7 separate regions of the Homo sapiens genome follow, and regions 1, 3, 4, 5, 6 and 7 are each linked to region 2. The links are contacts of gene promoters, found by promoter capture Hi-C in blood cells and fetal thymus (Javierre and others, 2016). All regions are on one chromosome and are shown on one strand. The core of a region is centred on a gene start or on the middle of the fragment in contact, and the rest is flanking DNA. Distances in the headings are between cores, read along the strand shown.

The links. Contacts are between HindIII fragments. The CHiCAGO score rates a contact against its expected background, and 5 or more counts as called.
Region 1: a fragment that was not itself captured here is called in contact with the fragment with the promoter of CCER1 in region 2 in 3 of 17 cell types (total CD4 T cells, non-activated CD4 T cells and naive CD8 T cells); the score reaches 12.5 in total CD4 T cells.
Region 3: a fragment that was not itself captured here is called in contact with the fragment with the promoter of CCER1 in region 2 in 4 of 17 cell types (M0 macrophages, M2 macrophages, naive CD8 T cells and 1 more); the score reaches 8.0 in M0 macrophages.
Region 4: a contact is called between a fragment that was not itself captured here and the fragment with the promoter of CCER1 in region 2, in 6 of 17 cell types (naive CD8 T cells, M2 macrophages, total CD4 T cells and 3 more). The highest score is 8.6, in naive CD8 T cells.
Region 5: a contact is called between a fragment that was not itself captured here and the fragment with the promoter of CCER1 in region 2, in 3 of 17 cell types (naive CD8 T cells, monocytes and M0 macrophages). The highest score is 8.4, in naive CD8 T cells.
Region 6: a contact is called between a fragment that was not itself captured here and the fragment with the promoter of CCER1 in region 2, in 1 of 17 cell types (naive CD4 T cells). The highest score is 5.0, in naive CD4 T cells.
Region 7: a fragment that was not itself captured here is called in contact with the fragment with the promoter of CCER1 in region 2 in 1 of 17 cell types (total B cells); the score reaches 5.5 in total B cells.

What each region holds. Positions count from the first base shown.
Region 1 is chr12:92,657,778-92,660,913 of GRCh38, reverse strand. No RefSeq gene overlaps it. Among named protein-coding and RNA genes, the nearest start is that of PLEKHG7, 44 kb to the left of the region's middle. The HindIII fragment of the contact is 973 bases long and covers 879-1,851 here.
Region 2 is chr12:90,953,842-90,956,884 of GRCh38, reverse strand. CCER1 (coiled-coil glutamate rich protein 1) reads left to right here and starts at 1,709. Exons shown (of 1, transcript NM_152638.4): 1 at 1,709-3,043. The coding sequence starts at 2,143. RefSeq lists an enhancer at 2,701-2,800. The HindIII fragment of the contact is 2,103 bases long and covers 1,452-3,043 here.
Region 3 is chr12:88,998,483-89,001,468 of GRCh38, reverse strand. No RefSeq gene overlaps it. Among named protein-coding and RNA genes, the nearest start is that of LINC02458, 20 kb to the left of the region's middle. The HindIII fragment of the contact is 2,413 bases long and covers 385-2,797 here.
Region 4 is chr12:88,971,599-88,974,916 of GRCh38, reverse strand. No RefSeq gene overlaps it. Among named protein-coding and RNA genes, the nearest start is that of LINC02458, 46 kb to the left of the region's middle. The HindIII fragment of the contact is 1,571 bases long and covers 927-2,497 here.
Region 5 is chr12:89,481,283-89,484,298 of GRCh38, reverse strand. All of the region lies in intron 4 of POC1B-DUSP6 (POC1B-DUSP6 readthrough), which reads left to right. The region is part of intron 4 of POC1B (POC1 centriolar protein B); the gene reads left to right. Among named protein-coding and RNA genes, the nearest start is that of GALNT4, 42 kb to the left of the region's middle. The HindIII fragment of the contact is 6,655 bases long and covers 1-3,016 here.
Region 6 is chr12:92,640,696-92,643,583 of GRCh38, reverse strand. The region is part of intron 1 of LOC124902983 (a long non-coding RNA gene); the gene reads left to right. Among named protein-coding and RNA genes, the nearest start is that of PLEKHG7, 61 kb to the left of the region's middle. The HindIII fragment of the contact is 731 bases long and covers 1,224-1,954 here.
Region 7 is chr12:89,511,752-89,514,807 of GRCh38, reverse strand. The region is part of intron 2 of POC1B-DUSP6 (POC1B-DUSP6 readthrough); the gene reads left to right. The region is part of intron 2 of POC1B (POC1 centriolar protein B); the gene reads left to right. Among named protein-coding and RNA genes, the nearest start is that of GALNT4, 12 kb to the left of the region's middle. The HindIII fragment of the contact is 9,701 bases long and covers 1-3,056 here.

The sequences.
Region 1 (3,136 bases), core at 116-2,615, 1.7 Mb before region 2:
TGTCTAATACTCATACCATTTTAAATTTCCTCAGTTATCTTAAGAAGTTGGTTTGGTTTCAATCAGCCTCCAAAAAGGTCTACATACAGCATATGGTTGGGGTGTATTTTGAGTATTTCCTGATATAGGTGACTATATCAATTAGTTTTAGCTATTAAAGCACTACAAAGCTCAATGGCATAAATCAAGCTTGTCCAACCCATGGCCTACGGGACCACATGCAGCCCAGCATGGCTTTGGATGTGGCCCAACACAAATTTGCAAACTTTCTTAAAACATTATGAGATTTTTTTTGCAATTTTTTTAAAGCTCATCAGCTATCCTTAGTGTATTTTATGTGTGGCCAAAGGCAATTCTTCCCTTGTGGTCCAGGGAAGCCAAAAGATAGGATACCCCTGGTGTAAATCAACATCCCATTTTGGAAGAATTTGTGGTTTGGCGATTTGAGCTGGGCTCAGGTGTGAGAAGGTGCTAGGTCAGCTGGAGCCTGGCTGGTGTGTCGTGGTGGTTGGGGTACAAAGCTTACCTGGGATGGTTCATCTTTGTCCCAGGTGGTCTCTCATCCCCCAGTAGGCTACCCTGGGTTTACTCACCTGGTGTCAGGTTTTTTTTGTAGCAATTAGGAAATCCCAAAAGGTCTCTTAAAGCCTAGGCTTGAACTGCAATGCTGCTTTGTCACATTCCATTGGCCAAAGAAGGCACAAGACCAACTCCACCTGTTGATGGGAGAAATTGCAAAGCTATATTGCAAAGGACGTAGCTGTTAAGGAAGGGAATAATTTGTGAAAATTTTGGCAATCTACTATAGCCACTTACCAAACTTGTTTTGATTTCCATAACCCTTAAAATCTGTCAAAGAATACATATCTCCTAAAGCTTACATTTTAACTTCAAACTATTCTTAAATGAATAGAAATTGATCACTAATAAATTTTTAAGAAATATTGTCATTCAACACAGCCATATGATCTTTTTGTTCTTGTACAAAAAATTTTCTCATTTCCTTTAAGTGGTATAAAGGCATTTATTTCAATGCCTGAAAAAGTTTCATACAATGTATAACTAGAACATAATAAAAAGTTCGAGGGCCAGGTGTGATGGCTTATGCCTGTAATCCCAGCACTTTGAGAGGCCAAGGTGGGAAGATCACATGAACCCAGGAGTTCAAGACCAGGCTGGGCAATATGGTGAAACCTTGTCTCTACTAAAAAGACAAAAAATTAGCTGAGCATGGTGGCATGTGCCTGTAGTCCCAGCTACTCAAGAGGCTGAGGCGGGAGGATTGCTTGAGCCCAGGAGGTTGAAACTGCAGTGAGGCATGAATGGGCCATTACACTCCAGTCTGGGCAACAGAGTGAGACCCTGTTTCAAAAAAAAAAAAAAAGTTTTGATTCATTTTAATTTCAACATGTAAAATTGTAATGTTTTGTTTTGTTATTTTTCTCTTTCCAGAGGGTTACTAAATACATTAAACTGTTGGGAAGGGCATTGTATTTCTCTGGTCCAGGGCAATAATTCAATAGGGATCAAGGAAAGCTCTTTGTAAAAGCTATCTATAGGACAAGGGCTTAATTTATGTGGTGGTTTCTGCTAAATACCTTGCATTAAAGAAAAACTACCAACTGTTAAAGAGCAATGGCAGGTCAACTTACTTTGGTAGTAAAGGGACGTGATGATGAGAAGGTTGATCAAACAGGTGTAAATCTTTTCTGAATCTACAGTTTTAATTTTGCCTGATGATAAAATTATAGGCTTTATCATGATGAACTGCGGCCGGCTCATACTAGCTTGTGAGAGTCACTGGCCTCATATCTTTCTAATTCCATGTTCAGTAAAGTCATGTTGGAAGCTTGATATTGGCCAGAGTGAGAGTATTTACACCATGGAAACTGGCAAATGCTACAAAAGAGGGCCTCTTTTTGTTTTGTTTTTTTTTTTGATGGTCAGTTGTTAAACATTTGTAGCATACCACTGGCCTTTACCCACATAAAAAACAACAGGTACTGCTTTCCAGGCATATTTAAAAAGAGTTTCTTTTGCAATGAAGGACAGTAATCATGGAAGGAGGGGAGGGCTTCCCTTGGCATCTTTTCCATCCATATGTGTCTCCAGATTGCTGGTAGCCTGGTTGAGTATGAGCAAAGATTAAGAAATGAGAAGCAGAGACCAGGGAAAGGAACAGGGAATGTGCCTGGTCCTTTGCTTACGCTATTGACTCTGACTTTCATCGGGCTCAGGCCAGACATGCTCTTCAGCTTGTTTCTAAGTGCTCAACATCCTCTGAGTCTTTTAACAAGAAATGTAGAAATGGAAGCAATTCTTCATATGTTACGGAATTCAGCTACTTGCCATGCAGCCCTGATGAAATCCCTTACCTGCCACAGTGTTTCCCATCTGCGAATCAGAGATGGGAAATCTGCTCCTCCTCATTGTGCAAGTAGTTATGGTTAAAGCCAGGTTAGGTTGCCTCTCCCTGTAGAGTAATAAATGGAATAGGATGAGATAATTCTTAAGAGTCCCTCTGAAGAGGGCTCTCCATGGAGAAGGAAAAGGAGAAGGAAATTTGGAAGCCGTCGGGTAAGACCTTGTTGAAACTGTAGTTCATAGAATAGCAGCATTGGTGTCACCTGGGAGTTTGTCAGAAACGCAAAATCTTAGGCCCTACCCAGAACTATTGCATCAGAATCTGCATTTTGACAAGATTCCAGGTGAATTTTATACACATTATAGTTTGAGAATGATTTAAGCAATGGTTTATTCATGGAACCAGAGAAATACTCTTTTTTTTTTTTTTTTGGTAGAGTATGTACTTTAATCTTATTCATAGCTCCATGTTATTTCCCAGCCTTTGTTTTTCCACTTTTAGGTTCCCATTTAGGCTTTATTCTTAGCAAACAGATTGGCCTTTCCAGGAACAGTATTTAAATAATCATCATACTAGAAAAATGCATTTGCTTAAAATAGTGACACACTTACAATGGGAGCATGGGGTAGGTGAGCACTAACTCCCATCTGTAATAGCAGAAACCAGGGCTGGGCGTGGTGGCACACGCCTGCAATCCCAGAATTTTGGGAGGCCGAGGTGGGTGGATCGCCTGAGGTCAGGAGTTCAAGACCAGCCTGGCCAACATGGTGA
Region 2 (3,043 bases), core at 460-2,959:
AATGAAATTAAATGAAGCCTGTGGATTCTACAGGTCTCAGGGCAAATGTTGGAGTCCTGATCCAAGACCCCCTATAATGTTCTCAATTTTCAGCCAGGAATGCATAAATGACCTTTGCCAGCTTCAGGGCTTTCACACATTTTGCTTTTCTGGCATTTAATGGAGCCTTATATAGACTGAAGTTCCCAGCAGGCAGTTTTCCATTTTGTGCAATTCCACTCAGCACAGAAAAGTAAGAAAGGGATATAAACTGAGACGGTTTTCTCTAGGACCAAGTATGGTAGCACTTTCCTTGACGTTTTACAAAGAAGGACAAGAAAAGGACACAAGCCAGGGTGGGGATGCCTATTTTTGCATCAAGAACAAGTGCCTTTACATATACTATATCATCTCTTTTAGAAGTCATGAAGTATTTACAAATAAGGATGATAGTTAACAGTTACTGAGTACTTACAGGGTACCTGCACTAAGTACTTGAAGGAATTACAGTAAGTCCTCACTTAGCATCATAGGTTCTTGGAAACTGCTACTTTTAAATGAGAAGACATATAATGAAACGTGGTTTTGTTATTGTTGTTGTTTTGCCTCAGCAACGTTATAAGGAAATGACATTGAGCAAAACATTAATATTAGAGGACCTGTTATATGCATTTAATTCTTTACACAACCGTATGGAAAAGGTAGTATAATCATGGTATGGGTAAGGAAACTGAGGCTTACAGAGATTAATAATTGGTGAGTTGAAGTTGAATCCCATTTATTTAAATTAAAACCCATATGCTTAACCACAATGCTTTAAAGGCTTCCCGTGTATATGCTGTATGGTCAGTGAAGGGACAAAAGGAAAGACAATCAGAATATTCCTCTTCCCAAGGACAAACCTGTGGTATTCATTATGGTAATAATAATATTTGTTTAATTGAGGTACACATGTACGGTATATTACCAATAGCAAAGTACCTTCCCAAATGTTATGTCATTTAGTTATCACAAGGGTCCTACTGGGGGTTTGGTAGAACACATAGCAATGTCATTAGGAACCTAACTTTTGGGTCAAACAGGTTTAGGCTTAAATCGTAGCCTGGAAATTTATTAGCCCCACAACCATGGGGAAATTAAGCTCTCAGTTCCCTCATCTGTGACAGGTGATAAGATACGCCTACCTCTCAGGGTAGATGACAGGATTATTTGTCAGTGAGCACATGCAATAATAAATGTTCGTGGTCTTGTTTTATGTATTATGAATCCCAATTCTCAGGAGTAAGAAGAGTTGGCACCGGCCAGAAGGTAAGAGGTTGGGCAAAGTTTCCTTTCTCCAGTAATTTTCCATGATCCCTTAGGCCCTCCAAAGGTGTAGAATGTGGGGTTTTCAAAACTCAAGTTCTCCCGCCCCCACCGGGTTCAGATGAAGGCCCATCTTCTAAACCCCCGCCTCAAGGTGATACAAAGCTTTCGGATAAACTGCCTCCAGACTTGCTTGAATTGAGCAGCAGAAACCCAGCCTGGACCCCTCTTCACCTCCCCCAAACGCTGCGTCACAAGCCCCCTGCGAATGTTCACCTGGAGCCTGGTTCCGGACAGAACCCGGCCTTGCACACAGGGAGGACGATTTCGACCCCAATTGGCTGTTGCCCTGGGTGACCAAGAACGCAGTGGGCACGCGGGAGACCACAGCCAGTATTTAAAGGCTGCCGCTGCCCTCGCCACCACAGTCCTGCCAGGACGGCGACAGTGAAGCACCTGGGTTGAGAGGGAGCAGCAGGTAACTGCGCAACCCCTGCCTCCCCCGGCCCCAGCCCGTGCCTCAGCAGAGCCGGGTGTGGTGGGGACCCGGGAGTGGGTCTCACTGCGTGTCGCCTGCCAACACCTTCCTCCCCCACCATCCTTACCCAGCCCCAGTCCCACCCAGCACACCTGGGCGAGACAACCCAGGTGCGAAGGACAAGCGATTACTACCGAAGAGCGTGCAAACCAGGAAGAGAGCAGCCTCCTGGAGAGGAAAACGTGATCCCAGGGGTAGACACGTGGCGCTGCGTGGAGAGACAGGTTGACGAGACGAGGCTCTTCTGACCGTCCTACCTGGCAAAACTTGACGACAGCTTCAGGTCGCTACCATCTGGACCTCTCGGAGCTCCCTGAACCATGACTCAGACCCTCGACACAAGGGAAGACCCTCTGAACCTGGGCGGCGGTGGCGGCGGCGGCTGTGGCTGTGGCTGGGCACACTCGGCCTCCTTGAGCTCCTGGTCGTCCTGCCATCGAAGGCGCCCGGGTGCTCCAGCGTACAATAGACCGCACCGATATAGCCCCAAGACCGAGTATGGGCCCCCAAGGAAGCAGCCGAAGCAACAGCACGGCCCGGGCTTTTGGTTCCAACCACCCGTGTGCTCTAACTGGGGGTGCTGGGGAGGGCCCTGGCGCCCACCCCCTCCAGGATTCTGGAAATTCCCCTGCCCGGTGCAAGTGTTTCGGGTGTATGGCCTGCACCCTCTCTGCTTTTGCTGCTGCTCCTGCTGGAGCGGGTCCTGGAACCCTGGCTGGGTGAAGCCCCCAGGCAGGAAGAAGCGCTGGGGCCGCAGAGGCCGCGGCCTGCGCCACCACCCTCGCCACTCCTACCCGCGGAGCCCGCCAGCGGATGTGAGCACGCTGCCGCGGCCGGTCAAGCTGTATGAGTGGAGAGAGCCTGGCATGCGAGCGCCGCCCAACACCACCCAATTCATCATGAACCAGATCTACGAGGACATGAGGCAGCAGGAGAAGGTGGAGCGTCAGCAGGAGGCGCTGCGGGCGCAGAAGGCCACGGTGAGCGGCGAGGCCTCCCCAGCCAGATCCTCCGGAAACGACGCGCCCCCTGGCGGCAGCAAGGAAACCTGGGGACTGCAGGAAACTCTGTATGGCTTTGTGCAGAATCCCTCTCTAGCATTCAGTCCCAACCCAGAGGAAAACCAGTCTCTTGCCCCGCTGCTGGTGGAAGAAGAGGAGGAGAAGAAAAATGATGATGAGGAGGAGTATGACCAGGAGGTGTGTGATGCAAAGGAGGCGA
Region 3 (2,986 bases), core at 342-2,841, 2.0 Mb after region 2:
CTAAGAACTCAAGGAAATTATTGCCGACTAAATAGGAAGACAATTGCAGAATTTCATGCTGAGAGTAGATTATTAGTTTGGTTTGATTAGGAATTCAAGGGTAAATTGGAGAGGCTTGAGACACATGGCATAGTAAAACACACACACACACAGACACACACACACACACATAAACTGAAAGATAGGCTAACTTAGCTAGAAGAGGAGAAATTCCTTTAGGAAAACAGTGTAGACTCTAGGAAATAGTCTTGCTTTTATAAAATAGACAATGAAAATTTTAAGGATAAGGCATATAAAAATATTAAGGAAAATGGAGATGAATTCCAAACCAAGTGCTCATGGAAGGCATTAGAAGAGAAGGACGGCACTGCCCTGTCAGAAGCTTTGATTGGGGCCCAAAAAAGGAAGGCAAAATTTTAGAAAGCAAACTGGAATGATTGCTTCAGGGAAGGCCAGATTTGGGACACTGTTGAGATGCAGCTTTTTAATATTATATAGGAAAAGCAACTGGCTACTGTCTTGTCTTTTATACTGAGGCAACTGAGATGTTGCCCTGGGTAGTTTAAAAATTGGATCCCCTTAAAGATTGTAACAGCTCTCCATCTAGAGTGGTGGCAGGAAAATCTGGACAAATTTCAAATGAGCAAAAAAAGATCAGCATCATACTAAAAGAATGACTGGGAGAGTCTGAAGGTACCGTATTCCACAGGTGGAGAATATACGAATTGCTTATTCTGAGAGTAAACATTCCTGAGAAAATCAGGGATCTAAAATGCTAAAGGAAGGCAGAACAAAGAGGAAATATTAAAGGTTCAATAGGTAGTGCAGTGAGTTGAGGCCAGCCCTGGTTAAAGGTTAAAGTTTAGCTAAAGGAGCTCAGATTCATCAACCAAGGAAGGTGAAGGTGAGGAAGGTTTGTTTGAGCAATTGGTACTTAAGCTCAAAGTTTGATTTCTGGCCCAGACATTCTGTTTTCAAACATATTCCTCCAGATACTGTTTTGCATTTCTTTAAAAATAAGAGATATGAAACCAGTTTGTTCTTAATTGTCAAAAAGACATGGCGAGCAAAATCATAGTACTTCATGAGGTAGAGAAGGAAAGGGAGAAAATTAAGCAGGAGAGATGGTTAGAACCTTCCTAAAAGACATACAAGAATAATAGAATGAAATCAAACACGAGAGGATTAATTCACTTGCCCAGTGCACACACGCGGGCACACACACACACACACAGACAGTCCCCTGAGGAGCATTTGAGTTATTGGACTTTATTATGGCCCTAGGGGCACAACTTCAGAAAACAACTATAGCTTCATTTCAGGAATCTGCTGAGGGCAAATTCTATGGATGAGTGAATTTAAAGAGTTGGGGAAAATCCTCCCTAGGAGGCCAATATTACAGGCTTACACAATTCTACAGCAAGCAGCATTAGAAAACCTATGAGGGCACTGGGATGGATGTGTCTGCTCACAAGAGTGAGCAGTTGGATATTCTGGGCAGGAAAGAAGGTGCCTCAAATTGGATTCATAGGCTGCCACCATTAAAATTTCCAAAGATTGCAAGAAGGATGCAATATCTTAAATACCACAGTCTGAGTGACAAAACAATAAGCATAAATGAATTTTCCTGACCAAGCCTCCCACCCCTAGAAACTCACAAATGGCAAATGCATAGACCTACATTAACCATTTGCTAGGAGATCTTTCCCACTTGATTTTAAATTCACAGTTTGTAGATACTAAACATCTGGCATAGATTTATTAGCATTCTGATGAAGTTGAAACCAAGTTTTTCTCTCTATTTTTTTTAACTCAGGTATGATTGGGGTTTGCTATGATGTGTGATACTAAAAATAGTCAGTTTGAGGAACATAATTTTGCCTGAAATAAATAATTTGGTAGATATTATTTTTTCTTATATCTTTTACGTGTGAAATAGATGCTGTGATAATATTACATGTCCTATTAATCTTGTAGGCCATTTAATAAGTGAGACGTGTTATTGAAATTATGCATATTTTGAGACCTTGAAAGCAATAAATTAGTTGTAAGAGTGCAGTCCAAGATGTAACTTCTGAAAGACTAAATTCTTCCGTGCCGCTAAGAACCCCTTTAGCTGGTAGACTGAGTAGAATAAGAAATTAGAGAGGCTGCCCTTTAAACTCTCCTTTCTCATTTATTTCAACTTCAACTCACAATGGCAAAATAATTAGATTTTTGACAGGTATATCTTTAATCTTTGAATATTAATTTCTCATGAGTCATATTGGACAATGATGCTAGACAAAATAGACAGTGAATTTCAGCACTGATATGGAGTGGGCTTGGAGCTAACATAACTAATTTACCACTCTGACATGTTCAGAACCTTTTGAGAGTTTACTCTACACTTGACTTTGGAGGGTGCTCTCTACATTAGCAGTGGTTCCAAGAAGAACCCAAAGGAGTAATGGTTGGTGTTAGAAAGAGGCCTTGTAAACATAGGAATGGGGCTACCCTAATAGAATGATCTTCTCCTTGTCTGATTATACTTTTAATGGTTAAACCCAGTAGATTAAGATAAAAACTGGAAATTGTCAGGAAGAACTTTTTTTTTTTTTTTTTTTTTTTGCTCCAGATACTTCATTTCCATCCACCCTCACTCGCTCCTCCCAATAAGGAGAGAATAACCTGACTATTGATTTGGGGTCTGGAACTGGGCAAGTGAATCTGGGAACTGACACTGCTCCCAGTTGCTCTCAAGATTATGGGCCACATTAATCTTAGTCATGAAAATCTTTTCCCCATGTGTGAAGCTTGTATCGGTCCAGTACTGACTGTGAGTAAGTCAGCCTAATTCCGGAGTTCAACATTATGAAACCCACTTCTCTGCCAGATGTAAGCTACATTTCCTGATACCAGCCTTGTAGGTTATAACAGTAATGTTTTTGTTCTTCATCTGTGAATTCTAGTTTCATTTGAGAGGGAAATATTCCATACTGCTGCT
Region 4 (3,318 bases), core at 463-2,962, 2.0 Mb after region 2:
AAAATTAAAAACTCAATTCAATTGAAAAATCTCTATCAACTAAGAAAAACCACAAATGTATGTTCAGTTTGTGGGATAGCCACATGGTGAAGAAGTATTCTAAATGGTTTTAAAACCCAGTAACGTGACTGTAGTAATACTGCAGGTCGAGTAGGTGTTTTATTCTACCACTATTGTGTGATAATCTGGAAACAGACAAATGAGTAGCTATGTGATGGCTTAATTCAGTTATCCCTGTGTCCTTGAGAGCCAGGTTTGTCATCCTCAAAATAGGAGAAAGGAGACACAGAAATAAGATAGAAGAGGTTAAGTAAAAATCCTGTAGTCTTGAATTTAAATTGGAAGATATAGTAGGGATTTTGATGTGATTTATCTTAAAAATAATTCCTAGCTTAGTCTAATGAAAAGGCCTAGAAACCATGGTTAACCAAAGAGTAATAAGCCCTCTAACACTCGGATTTTTATTCTGAAATACTATTTCCCACTAAAGCAAACCACAATTCCTGGGACAGGAAATGTACAAGATGAGTTTGAAATATTTTACCAAGGAGGCTATTAAACACTATTAAGGTAGTGTTAAAAAGATTCAGGAATCAACCTAAAGAAGATCCACTGGCAAAAGAGAAAACAATTCCAATTATACAAGAAAAACCATATATTCTATAGTTGTTTGAGCAGTGTTTTATATATAAGACTACGTAAACTCTTAGTCATCATTTTTACAATTTCTTTTTATCTGCTGATTTTTGTCTGATTATTCTTTCAGTAACTGGACCTGTATCCATATATTACAATAAATGCAACTTCATAAAAAGATGAAGCAATCTGATTATCAATAAAGATGTAAGCTGCAATGACTTTAATACTAAATACATTTAAATCAATGGGTTCATAATAATACTTATCCAAAAAAAAAAAAGAAAGCTTACCATCAACAAAATGTACTAGCTTCAGAATGCGGAGAACCAATTTATTCTTTTTAAAATTTAGAAGTTGGGAGAAGGATTAAGCATTTACCCTATGTTTCCTATGTTGTACCATTAAGTAACCAAATGGAAAGCAAGGGAAAGTTTCTCATTATAGAAATATTTTAAGAAATAAGTGAAGAAATGATAGAATTGCAATATTTTTCTCATTCTTCCCCAGCCCCAGTGATCCCCATTAGGGCTCAAGACCATGGCATCAATTACAGCTTATAAAATAAAAGAGAGACAACGTGACTTCTGATGGAACAGTGCATCATCTCTAAGGTAGCCTTGCAAAAAAAATATCAAATCTGAATCGGATCATGCCTTAGATTTAACAGTTGACAGAAAAAATAGAGAACATGGGAATCTCCTAATGACACCACAGGGATGCAATTAGAAAAATCCTGACTGAGGGAAATTTTAAAGATCTCAAAAGATCTAATGATTCAGTCTTTCTGACAAATAGGTATCAAGAGAATAAAATGAAAATGCCTATAAATTAAGATAGATTTATGGAACTTATTAATCACATTCGATGTGCTAAACTGGTAAATAAAGGGAAAGAATCAACCATTTATCTTGTGTTTCCTATTCAAACTGGGATAATCAAAATAGAATTTCTTCTCCGAGTCCCTGAGAATGGGGCACGTATTTAACCAAATCACAAACTACGTTTATTAACCACGTAACTTATTCATCACACTTTGTTATTCTCTGGGATTTGTAGTTTCACAAACCAGCACCTGCCTTCTGATTCTCTTTTCCAGCCTGTATTTTGGACACTGAACCAATCGCATGGAGATTTATTTTTTAGCTGGTGAATCTTTCATTATGTAAATGTTAATGTATTATTAATGATAATAATAATGCTAATAATAATGTGACTAATTTCTTAAGTCTTCCTTATGTGCAAGGAACTGTGTATTGTGTCATTTACTTGCCCAGTGATAGTAATGTAGGCATTTTAGGATTCCCATCTTACAGATGAGGGAACCAAGGCTTTAAAAATTTAATAAATTGCTTGTGAGCCCACAGCCAATATCAAGCTAGAAACGTGCACCTGAGAACATGATTCCCTGTCCAGGGCTGTTACTTTCACCAAGTACTTAATTTGACATAAATGTAAAGGAAGAGATTGCCTTTTTGGTTAAATGTTCTCTGACACTAGAAATACAGTTAAAGGCTCTTAAAAGGCTCTATAGCTTCTAAGATGAATAACATGAATTGAAAATACAATGAAAAGTGTACCCCTTTTGTAGCTGGGGGATTCTTGCCTTTGCATCTAGACTGGAGTTCTGCTTTAAATGGGTTGCCATTTCAGGATTGCTTTAGGGATCAATGATAGTAAAGAGGAATGTTTTAGTCTAATAATATTAACCTGAATATATAAAATGTGCTATCTAGGGACAAAATGTACTTTTGCATTAGAGAATGAGAAAGGAAAAAAAATTAAAAACTGGAGCAGAGAGGTAGAAAGGTGAAGAGGAAAATAGGTTATGGAAATGAGGAGTCAGATTGGGAAATAAGCTTGATGAATAATTAGTGAGAGGGCAATGGGGTAGGTGTAAGGCTGGGCTCACTTTGCAACCTGCGTGCTGCGTGGAACCTGGAAAACCACTACATACTGTATAAAGTTTCCTTTTTTTGTCTTTAATGACAACAAGTCAAACACTACTAATGTCTCATAGAGGCCTGGGAGGCTACTGCACAGATCAGGTAATGACATTTATCTTACACCTACTCAGCATACAACTTCTGGGTTTTGGCATTCAGTTAAGATTCACTTGGAACCATATGGATGATACTGGCAATTATGTCACACTCTATTCAGGATGCAGTAGAATTTAGCAATGTTGTATCAAGATCCTATCATGGACTGTGACTTACTATTCTCACAAAATGAGAATGGTTTGGAACCTTTGACCTCCAAGAGCCATTCTTGAATCTATGATCCAGCTAGCTCCAGGAAGATGACTGGAAAATAGATTCTTAGGTTGTGTTTCAAAATACCAAAATGTACTTTGGGCATGATTTTTATTTTTCTTTTAATAAGATTAAATATTAAATATTATATTTAATGTATTAAATACATAATAATAATAAGCTAATGATGAAAGTATTTTGAGCATGAAAAGCACCATCTCAGGTAGACTGTAAGGTATGAATAAGAATGCCCAAGGGTAGGCTGGGATGATTGATTCAAGACTCAAACAATTTTAATTTAAATCCTCCTTGACACAGGTTCACATAAATCAATGTCCCTGGGTCCTAACACTCTGTCTTACATTCCAGTACTTTCTGATATCTTTAGCTATTTATCTGACTTTGCTTAAAAATTCACAGCACAGAG
Region 5 (3,016 bases), core at 58-2,557, 1.5 Mb after region 2:
TTTATGTAATCAGTCCTGTGATTGGATTTAAGTCTACCATCTTACTGTTTTCTCTTTATCCCATTTGTCCCACATGTTTATTTCTTTATCCTCTCTCCTTTTGGATTAATCAACTATTTCTTAGTATTCTACTCATCTATTTTATTCTTAGCTTTACTCTTTGTCTTTTTTGTTTTGTGGTAACCTCTAGAGATTACAATATGTATCCTTAACTTGTCACAGTCTACTCCTGAATTAATTTTATGCTGTTTTATGTATAATGTTAGAACTTATAGAACTATATCTCCATTTACTTCTTGACCATTTACACCTGCATATGGCGTAAGCTCACAATATGTTAAGCAGCCAATTTTCTTTAAAGAAAATAAGAAACAAAAAAGTCTTTTATATTTACCCCCATATTTGCTACTTCCAGCATTCTTTATTCATTTGTGTAGATCCAAGTTTCCATCTGATATCATTTCTTTTCTGCCTAAAACACTGCACTTACCATTTCTTGTAGTGAAGGTCTCCTGGTGATGGATGACTTCTCTCAACTTCTTGTTTATCCTTTGTAAAGGATATTTTTGCTGAGATGTAGAATTCTAGTTTGGCAGATAATTTTTTCTTTTAGTGCTTTAATGATGTCATTTACTATGGTCTGAGTTTGTGTCTCCCAAAAAATTCATGTGTTGAAATCCATACCCCAAAGGTGAGGGTATTAAAAGATGGGGCCTTGGGGAGGTGATTAGCTCATGAAGCACACCCTTCATGAATGGGATTTATGCCCTTATAAAAGAAGCCCCAGAGAGACCCTTGCCTCTCACCATGTGAGGACACAGCAAGAAGGTGTCATTTATGAGCCAGGAAACAGGCTGTATTAGTTTGTTCTCACACTACTAATAAAGACATACCTGAGACTGGGTAATTTATAAAGGAGAGGTTTAATTGACTCACAGTTCCGCAGAGCTGGGAGGCCTCAGGAAACTTACAAATTGTGGTGGAAGGGGAAGCAAATACATGGTGGCAGCAAGGAGAAGTGCTGAGCAAAAGGGGGAAAAGCCCCTTATAAAACTATCGAATATCGTGAGAACTCACTCATTATAAAAAGAATAGCATGTCGGACATGGTAGCTCACACCTGTAATCCCAGCACTTTGGGAGGCCAAGGTGGGTGGATCACCTGAGACCAGCCTGACCAACATGGAGAAATCCCGTCTCTACTAAAATTACAAAAAAAAATTAGCTGGGCGTGGTGGAGCATGCCTGTAATCCCAGCTATGGGAGGCTGAGGCAGGAGAATTGCTTGAACCTGGGAGGTGGAGGTTGAGGTGAGCCGTTGCACTCCAGCCTGGGCAACAAGAGCGAAACTCCATCTCAAAAAAAAAAAAAAAAGAATAGCGTTAGGGTAACCACCCCCATGATTCAATTACCTCCCACCAGGTCCCTCCCATGACAAGTGAGGATTATGGGAACTATAATTCAAGATGAGATTTGGGTGGGTACACAGCCAAATTGTATCACAGGCCCTCCTTAGACACCAAATCTGCTGGTGCTCTGATGTTGAACTTAGCCTTTAGAACTGTGAGAAATAAATTTCTGTTGTTTATATGCTACCCAGTGTGCAGTATTTTGTTATAGCAGCCTGAATGGACTAAGATGTCATTCTATTGTCTTTTAGTTTGCATTTTTTAATGTTAAGCCAGCAATCATTTTAATGTAATTCCCCTATATATAATGTATCTTTTTTCTCTGCTGCTCTCAGATCTTTTATTTTCAGCAATTTGACCATAATGGGCCTAGGTATGGTTTTATCTATTTTTCTTATGGTTCACTGAACTGTTTGGATCTATGGATTGATATTTTTTCATCATATTTGTAAAAATTGTTGTTCTTTCTTCATATATTTTTCTTCCCTAATTTCTTTCTCATCTCTTTCTGAAGCTCCAGATTCATGTATGTTTGACCACTTGATATTGTCCCACAGTTTTTTGAGGCTTTGTTCATATTTTTCCATTTTTTCTCCCTGTGCTTAGTTTGTATAATTTCTATTGCCTTATCCTCAAGTTCACTGGTCTGTTCTGCTGTAGGATCCAATTAACTGTATCCATTTCTCTGGTGAGATTCTCCATTGGTTTGCCCATGATGCCCGTCTTTTCCTTTAAATCCTTGAACATATTTATAATAATTGTTTTACAGCTCTAATTCCAACATCTATGCCATATCTGGGTCAAATTTTTCTGCTGCTTCATATGTCCTGTGATTTTTTAATTGTATGTCCAAACATGGCTAAATTTTTGAGTTTAGATTATGCTGTCGTTGTCTAAAGAGTGTTAAGTTTTGTTCTGGTATGAAATTAACTTTCTGCTTGCCCAAAGAGATAAAGAGATTCTGTTGAGGCTTGGATTTAGCCTGTGTAGGGTGGATCTAGTGTAGTCTTTACTCATGGGCTGTAGTGCCACTGGCCCTTCTAGAATTTCAAATGAATACCTGGAGTATTCAGAAAAGGCTGGTCAGAGCTTGAGCATCTCTCAGTTCTGTGTAACCTCTGTAATCTTTGCTCTGTTCACAGCCTCCCAGTAGTTGTTCTCTGCCAAGCCTTGTTGCCTTTGCACGGGCAGCTTTGTATTTGACAATACAAAGGGAATTGTATTATATACAAGGGGGTTCCTTGTAAATTTTTTTTCCAATGCAGAATTTTTGGGGATTCTGCTTTTCGTAAATCTTCTCTTGTACCCTGTCTTCAAAATTTCAGCCCATTAGCAGCCCTGAGTTCTGATTTCTGTTTCCTGTGCCCAGTGAGACTGCTGTTATCTCCTTGGGCTCTACTTCCATGTACTAAGATTTAGAAAGTGCTCCTATGTAGAAATCTGGGACAGATTTTGTGCTTATCTCATGTGTTTCCCATCTGTCAAGATTTGTAACCCTATGCTGTCTCTTGCCTAGTTCCTAAAAACAGTTGCTTCATATATTTGGCAGTTGTATGGTTGTTTATGGTAGGGAAGTAAGTCTGATAACCTTTACTACCCCATGGCCAG
Region 6 (2,888 bases), core at 340-2,839, 1.7 Mb before region 2:
CCAAGCACTTACTGGATTTTATTGTAATGGAAACAAAGTCCACTTGCTTTCCTCTTTAGCTTTATGTAGAATGATCCTCAAAAGGCTGAGCAGGTGCCATGGGACTCACCTTCTAGGCAGACATATTGTCAGTCACCTTCTATATGTGGTTTGTTGATCTCAAGCTTCAGTCAAGGGCTGCTCTGTGCTTTAATGATGAATGGTGCAGCAGTTCACCGTTATTTTTGGTGCCAGTGTTACCAAAACACCAGGGATTTGGCCTAGGTCCTGCTGCCCACCACACAGAAAACCAATAATTGAGACGATGAACATAGCCAGGAAAGAAGGCTTTAATTGGGTGCTCCAGCCAAGGAGTTGGGAGATCAGTCTCAAATCCGTCTCCCTGACTGACTAAAATTAGGGGTTTATATAGCAGGGAAGAAATGTATGGGAAAACAGGAACTAGGGAGGGGCAAGGAAGCAATCATGATGAATGAGGGGTCTGGTGTCTCATTGTCTGGATACGATGATCTGGTGAGTTTTAATTTTTTGATACTTTTTGAGAGGTCTGGGAGTCCTTTCCTGAAGAAGGAACTCAGATAAAACAAATGAAATTTCAAACATGAAGACCCAAAGGGTCAATTTTTATGTTTTTCCAAGAAAAAAACTGCCTATGGGACTATTGGGTTGGTTTCATCAGCATGATTCTTTCTTGTTCCGAAGAAGTTACTTGTGTATGAAATAGAGTTGAATGTCACAATGTTATTCAGAAATACAAAGTTCTCAGCGTTTGTAAATTTTGGGTTTTTTTTTGGTAACAGCTTTATTAAGATGTGATTCATATTGCATATAATTTACATACCATGTAATTCATCTACCTAAAGTGTACAATTCAATGGTTTTTAATATACTCATAGAGTTTGCAACCATCACCATAATCGATTGTAGAATATTTTTATCACTCTGAAAAGAAATCCTGCATCCTTTAGTTATCACTCTCTCATCTTCCCATTTCCTCTCTTGCTCCCAGCCTTAGGCAACCACTAATCTAGTTTCTGTCTCTATATATTTGCCTATTATGGACATTTAATATGAATGAAACTTTCTAATATGTGGACTTGGCTGTCTGTGAGTAGGCAGTATGCTGTGGTGGCTAAGAGCAAGGGGCAGATTTGGTTTCAACTCCTTGCTTTCTGGCCTACTACCTGTGCAACCACGTGCAGAACCCAACCTAATTTAAAGCTTTCTTTCTTGCCAAATGAAGATTTTTAAATAATTTTCCTTTATTTAAAAAATGTTTTAATTTTGCGATCATTTCAAACTTATAGAAAAGTTGCAAGAATGGTGCAAAGAATCCTTGTGTACTGCACCCCATATGTTCCAGTTGTTAATAATACTTACATTTACTTTGTCATTCTCTCAGTCTCTCTGTATCTGTGTTTATATATTTTTCAAACCATTTGAAAGTAAATTACAGAATTTTCTTTACCCCTAAGTATGTTAGTGTGTATTTCTGATAAATACACTTTTTTTTGGTATATAACCACAGAAGAGTTATCAAAATTAGGAAATTAACATTGATGTAATACTATTATCTAATTAAATGTTGTCAATTGCCCCAATAATGTTGAGGATCACCTGCTAGCTTTAGTGATTTTTAATCTATGACAATTTCTTAGGAATTATTTGCTTTTATGACCTTGACATTCTGAAGAGAATTGACCACTTATTTTATAGAATACCTCCCAATTTGGCTTTTTCTGATGTTTTTGAGGTTATGCATTTTTGCATTAAATTCTTTTTAGCCCTTCCATATAAGTCAGTTTGTCCCACAACTGTTGATAACTCTGATGTATCAAGATGGTATCTGCCAGGTTTCTCCACTATGAAACTACCACTTTTTTCCTTTGCAATAATTGTCTTGTGGGGAGATACTTTGAGAACATTTACCAAAATATCCTATTCTCATCAAGCTTTCACAAGTTTTAGCATCCATTGACAATCTGTGGCAATCAATTATTACTCTGATGGTTGCCACATGTTGATTTTATAACTTCTATTATTCTTTCCAGATTTATTATTTGCATTCTAATGCAAGGCAGATCTTTTCCATTATAACCATTATTATGTCATTATTTATTTTTGCTCAAATTATTCTCAGATTTGGCCAGTGATGTCTTCTCAGTCTGAGTCCTGTGTTGTTTTGGCACGTTGCTGTCATTCTTTAAGCATTTTCTTACTTTCTGGTGCAAAAGTATATTTATATATATACACACTGATGATATATATATATATGATTATATATACATAGACTGATATATATATACACACACGTACATATATGTGTGTGTATATGTATATATACACACACACACACTTCCATATCATTTTCTATATCTTTCTATCCACGTATATGCAAAGTCATAGTACCTCCAATTCCAGTCCAATTCCGCAAGGTTCATTTTGGATTTGTACCTCCTTTTTTGGACAGTGAGAAACCTGGCTTCCTTTATTTGCATTCTACTTATTTATTTACTCAAATTTGCTTTTTCTCCACTGTAAGTGATATCTTTTGAGCACTGCCACCTAGAATGGCACACACTCTTAATGTCCCTCCCTGTGACCACTGCTCTGAGCTTCCAGATATCTTTCAGGATTGATGCCCTTAGAGTAGATTTGCTCTTTCTGGAGGTGAGTTACATCAGTCTTAGGCTTTCTGCCAGTTCCACTTTTCTGTGCACTTTTTCTAGTCAGCTCTTGCTCTCTACTAGGACTTGCAGGAGGTTGAGAGATAATTCCTTGGGATTTGGTGTTGCTTTTTCTATGTATAGGTAATTTGAGGTTTGGGCATTTTCTATCTTCTATTTGCTGAAGGTGTGGGTTTTGAATAGTTTTATTTGTTTTTATTT
Region 7 (3,056 bases), core at 390-2,889, 1.4 Mb after region 2:
GAGGAAGCAGGACCTGAAGCATGTGGATTTTTTTCTTAGTAGACTCTTAGAAGGTAGGATATATTAGTCTGTTCTCCTACTGCAATAAAGAAATACCTGAGGCCGGGCGCAGTGGCTTATGCCTGCAATCCCAGCACTTTGGGAGGCTGAGGCAGGCAGATCACTTGAAGTCAGGAGTTTGAGACTAGCCTGGCCAACATGGTGAAACCCCGTCTCTACTAAAAATAAAAAATTAGCCAGGTGTGGTGGCAGGCGCCTGTAGTCCCAGCTACTTGGGAGACTGAGGGAGGAGAATTGCTTGAACCCGGGAGGCAAAGGCTGCAATGAGCCGAGATCATGCCGCTGTACTCCAGCCTGGACGACAGAGTAAGACTTCGTCTAAAAAAAAAAAAAAAAAAAAAAAAAGAAATACATGAAACTGAGTAACTTATAAAGAAAAGAGTTTTGATTGGCTCACAGTTCCACAGGCTATACAGGAAACATGGCTGGGGAGGCCTCAGGAAACTTAACAATCATGGCAGTAGGTGAAGGAGAAGCAGGCACATCTTACATGGCCAGAGCTGGAGGAAGAGAAGGGGAGGTGCTATATACTTTTAAACAACCAGATCTTGTGAGAACTCACTCACTATCACGAGAACGGCAAGGGGGAATTCTGCCCCTATGATCCAATCATGTCCCTCCAGGCCCCTCCTCCAACACTGGGGATTACAATTCAACATGAGATTTGGGTGGGGTCATAAGTCCAAACCATATTATAGGGGCTCTTAGGTTTCACAGGATGGGTGGAAAGGTGATGAGAGGGAAGAGGATGGGAGAAAACAAAATAGCCTGTGAAGTGTTGTCATCCCTTTTTATGGTTGCGGAAGCTGAAATTTCAGTAACTTGCCCAAAACTATAAAGCTAGTAGGCAGCAGAGCCTAGTAGTGGTCCCCAATCTTTTTGGCACCAGGGACTGGCTTCATGGAAGACAATTTTCACAGCAGGGTTCACACTCCTATGAGAATCTAATGCCGCTGCTGATCTCACTGGAGCTGGAGCTCAAGCCTTAAGGTTTGCTTGCCTGCCGCTCACCTCCTGCTGTGCAGCCCAGTTCCTAATAGGCCATGGACCAGAACCAGTTCGCAGCCTGGGGGTTGGGGACCTCTAGCCTAATAGAGCCTGGTTTGAGTCTGATTTCAGAACCATACCCTTTTCCATTAGGCCAGTCATCCCTTTCGCAGAGGGCCACATTAAAGTTTAAACAAACAGTAAAAGCCTGTTAAAGTATTTTCACAGGGTTTGCAGAATCTGAGCTGTACTTTAGAAGTTTCTGTTGAAAATTACATAATTTTAACATTGAAGTTGTTACTTCCCCCTCTATTTCCTTCAAGGTTATCCTGTCATTGATTCAATCCTGTAACATGTGGTGTGCTTGTACAACAAATGATGGTAAAGAACAAGTTAATCTTTCCTTTTTTGACTGAATAGAAGCAGACTGAAATTTGAACTTTTTAGTTACTTTCCCTGCAGTGAAATCATAATAAAAGTTTGCCAAGAATTCTTTTTTTTTTTTTTTTTCAAATTCTTGATGGCAGCCTATGTGGTACTTTGTGGAGCTTCTCCTATTATAGCTTAAAAAATTACTAAATTTATAAAAGCTGAAAAATTACAAAAGCTAAACTAATTTAGTGTATACACTGAGAGGTAGTAACAGAGTGCAGTGTTTCTCAAATTTCAATGTGCATCAGAATTCAGTGAGAAACTTGTCAAAAATTTATATTCCCAGGTCTCACCCCAAATAATGTATAATTTACTAGAAATAACGTCTTTTTTACAAGGATCCCAGTAACTGTAATGAAGATAATTCATAAATTCCCTTTGCTTTGAGAAGCACTGGTTTATTGGTTAAAAGCCTAGGCTTTGGAATCTTATAAAACTGGGTTAAAAATTGAGCTCTTTTCACTTTTCATCTATATTACCTTGACCAGTTACCTAACCTCACTAAGCCTCGTTTCCTCTTCTGTAAAATAGAGATAATGATATTTATCTGCCTTGTTGTTAGGATTAAATAAAGTAATACTTATAAAGGCGCCTAGTCTGGAGTACAGTGATGCAGTTACAGCACACTGCAGCCTTGACCTCCTGGTCAAGCTCCAGCCGCCCGCCTCCCTCAGCCTCTGGAGTAGCTGGGACTACAGGCATGCACCACGAAACCCAGGTAATTTTTTAAATTGTTTGTAGAGAGCCTCGCTATATTGCTGAGGCTGGTCTTGAACTCCTAGCCTATCGTAGTCCTTCTGCCTTGGCCTCTCGAAGCACTGGGATTACAGGCATGAGCCACCGTGCCTGGGCTTGATACTTACGCAGTATTGAAAAATACTAGGCCCATGGTACCAATTCAGTAAAGGTTTCTGTTGTTGTTATTGCCAGTCCTCAAAGACATGTGAAATTTGAATAAATTAAATTCAATTTCTTCAGCTTGTCATTACTAAAGATTACTTTTTAAAGCACCCACAGCTCCTTTAGACCCAGCTTATACTAGCAAGCTAATTACTTAGTATCAGCTAGAAAGCAAATATGCTTAGTTATTTCCTCATTCAAGGCAAAGGGATTTTAAGTTAGTGCTGTCAGTTAATTGTATTATTATGCAGTGCTTGCATAGTACAAACTACTTCTGACCATATTACAGTATTAAAGTTTGTCTAGTCAAGATTGGAATATTGTCTTTTTATTGTACAACCCTCTCCCTCACTTCCATCTAGGTTTATTGTTGTTTTGAGACAGTCTTACTCTGTCACCCACGCTGGAAGGCAGTGTTGCGATCTCAGCTCACTACAGCCCCAATCTCCTGGATTCTAGTGATTCTCGTGCCTCAGCCTCCCAAGTAGCTAGTACTATAGGTGCACGCCACCACGCCTGGCTCATTTTTGTATTTTTAGTAGAGACAGGGTTTCACCATATTGGCCAAACTGGTCTCAAATTCCTGGACTCGAGTGATTCACCTGCCTTGGCCTCCCAAAGTGCTGAGATTACAGTGAGCCATTATGCCAGGCCCCATCTACGTTTATGGATGTATG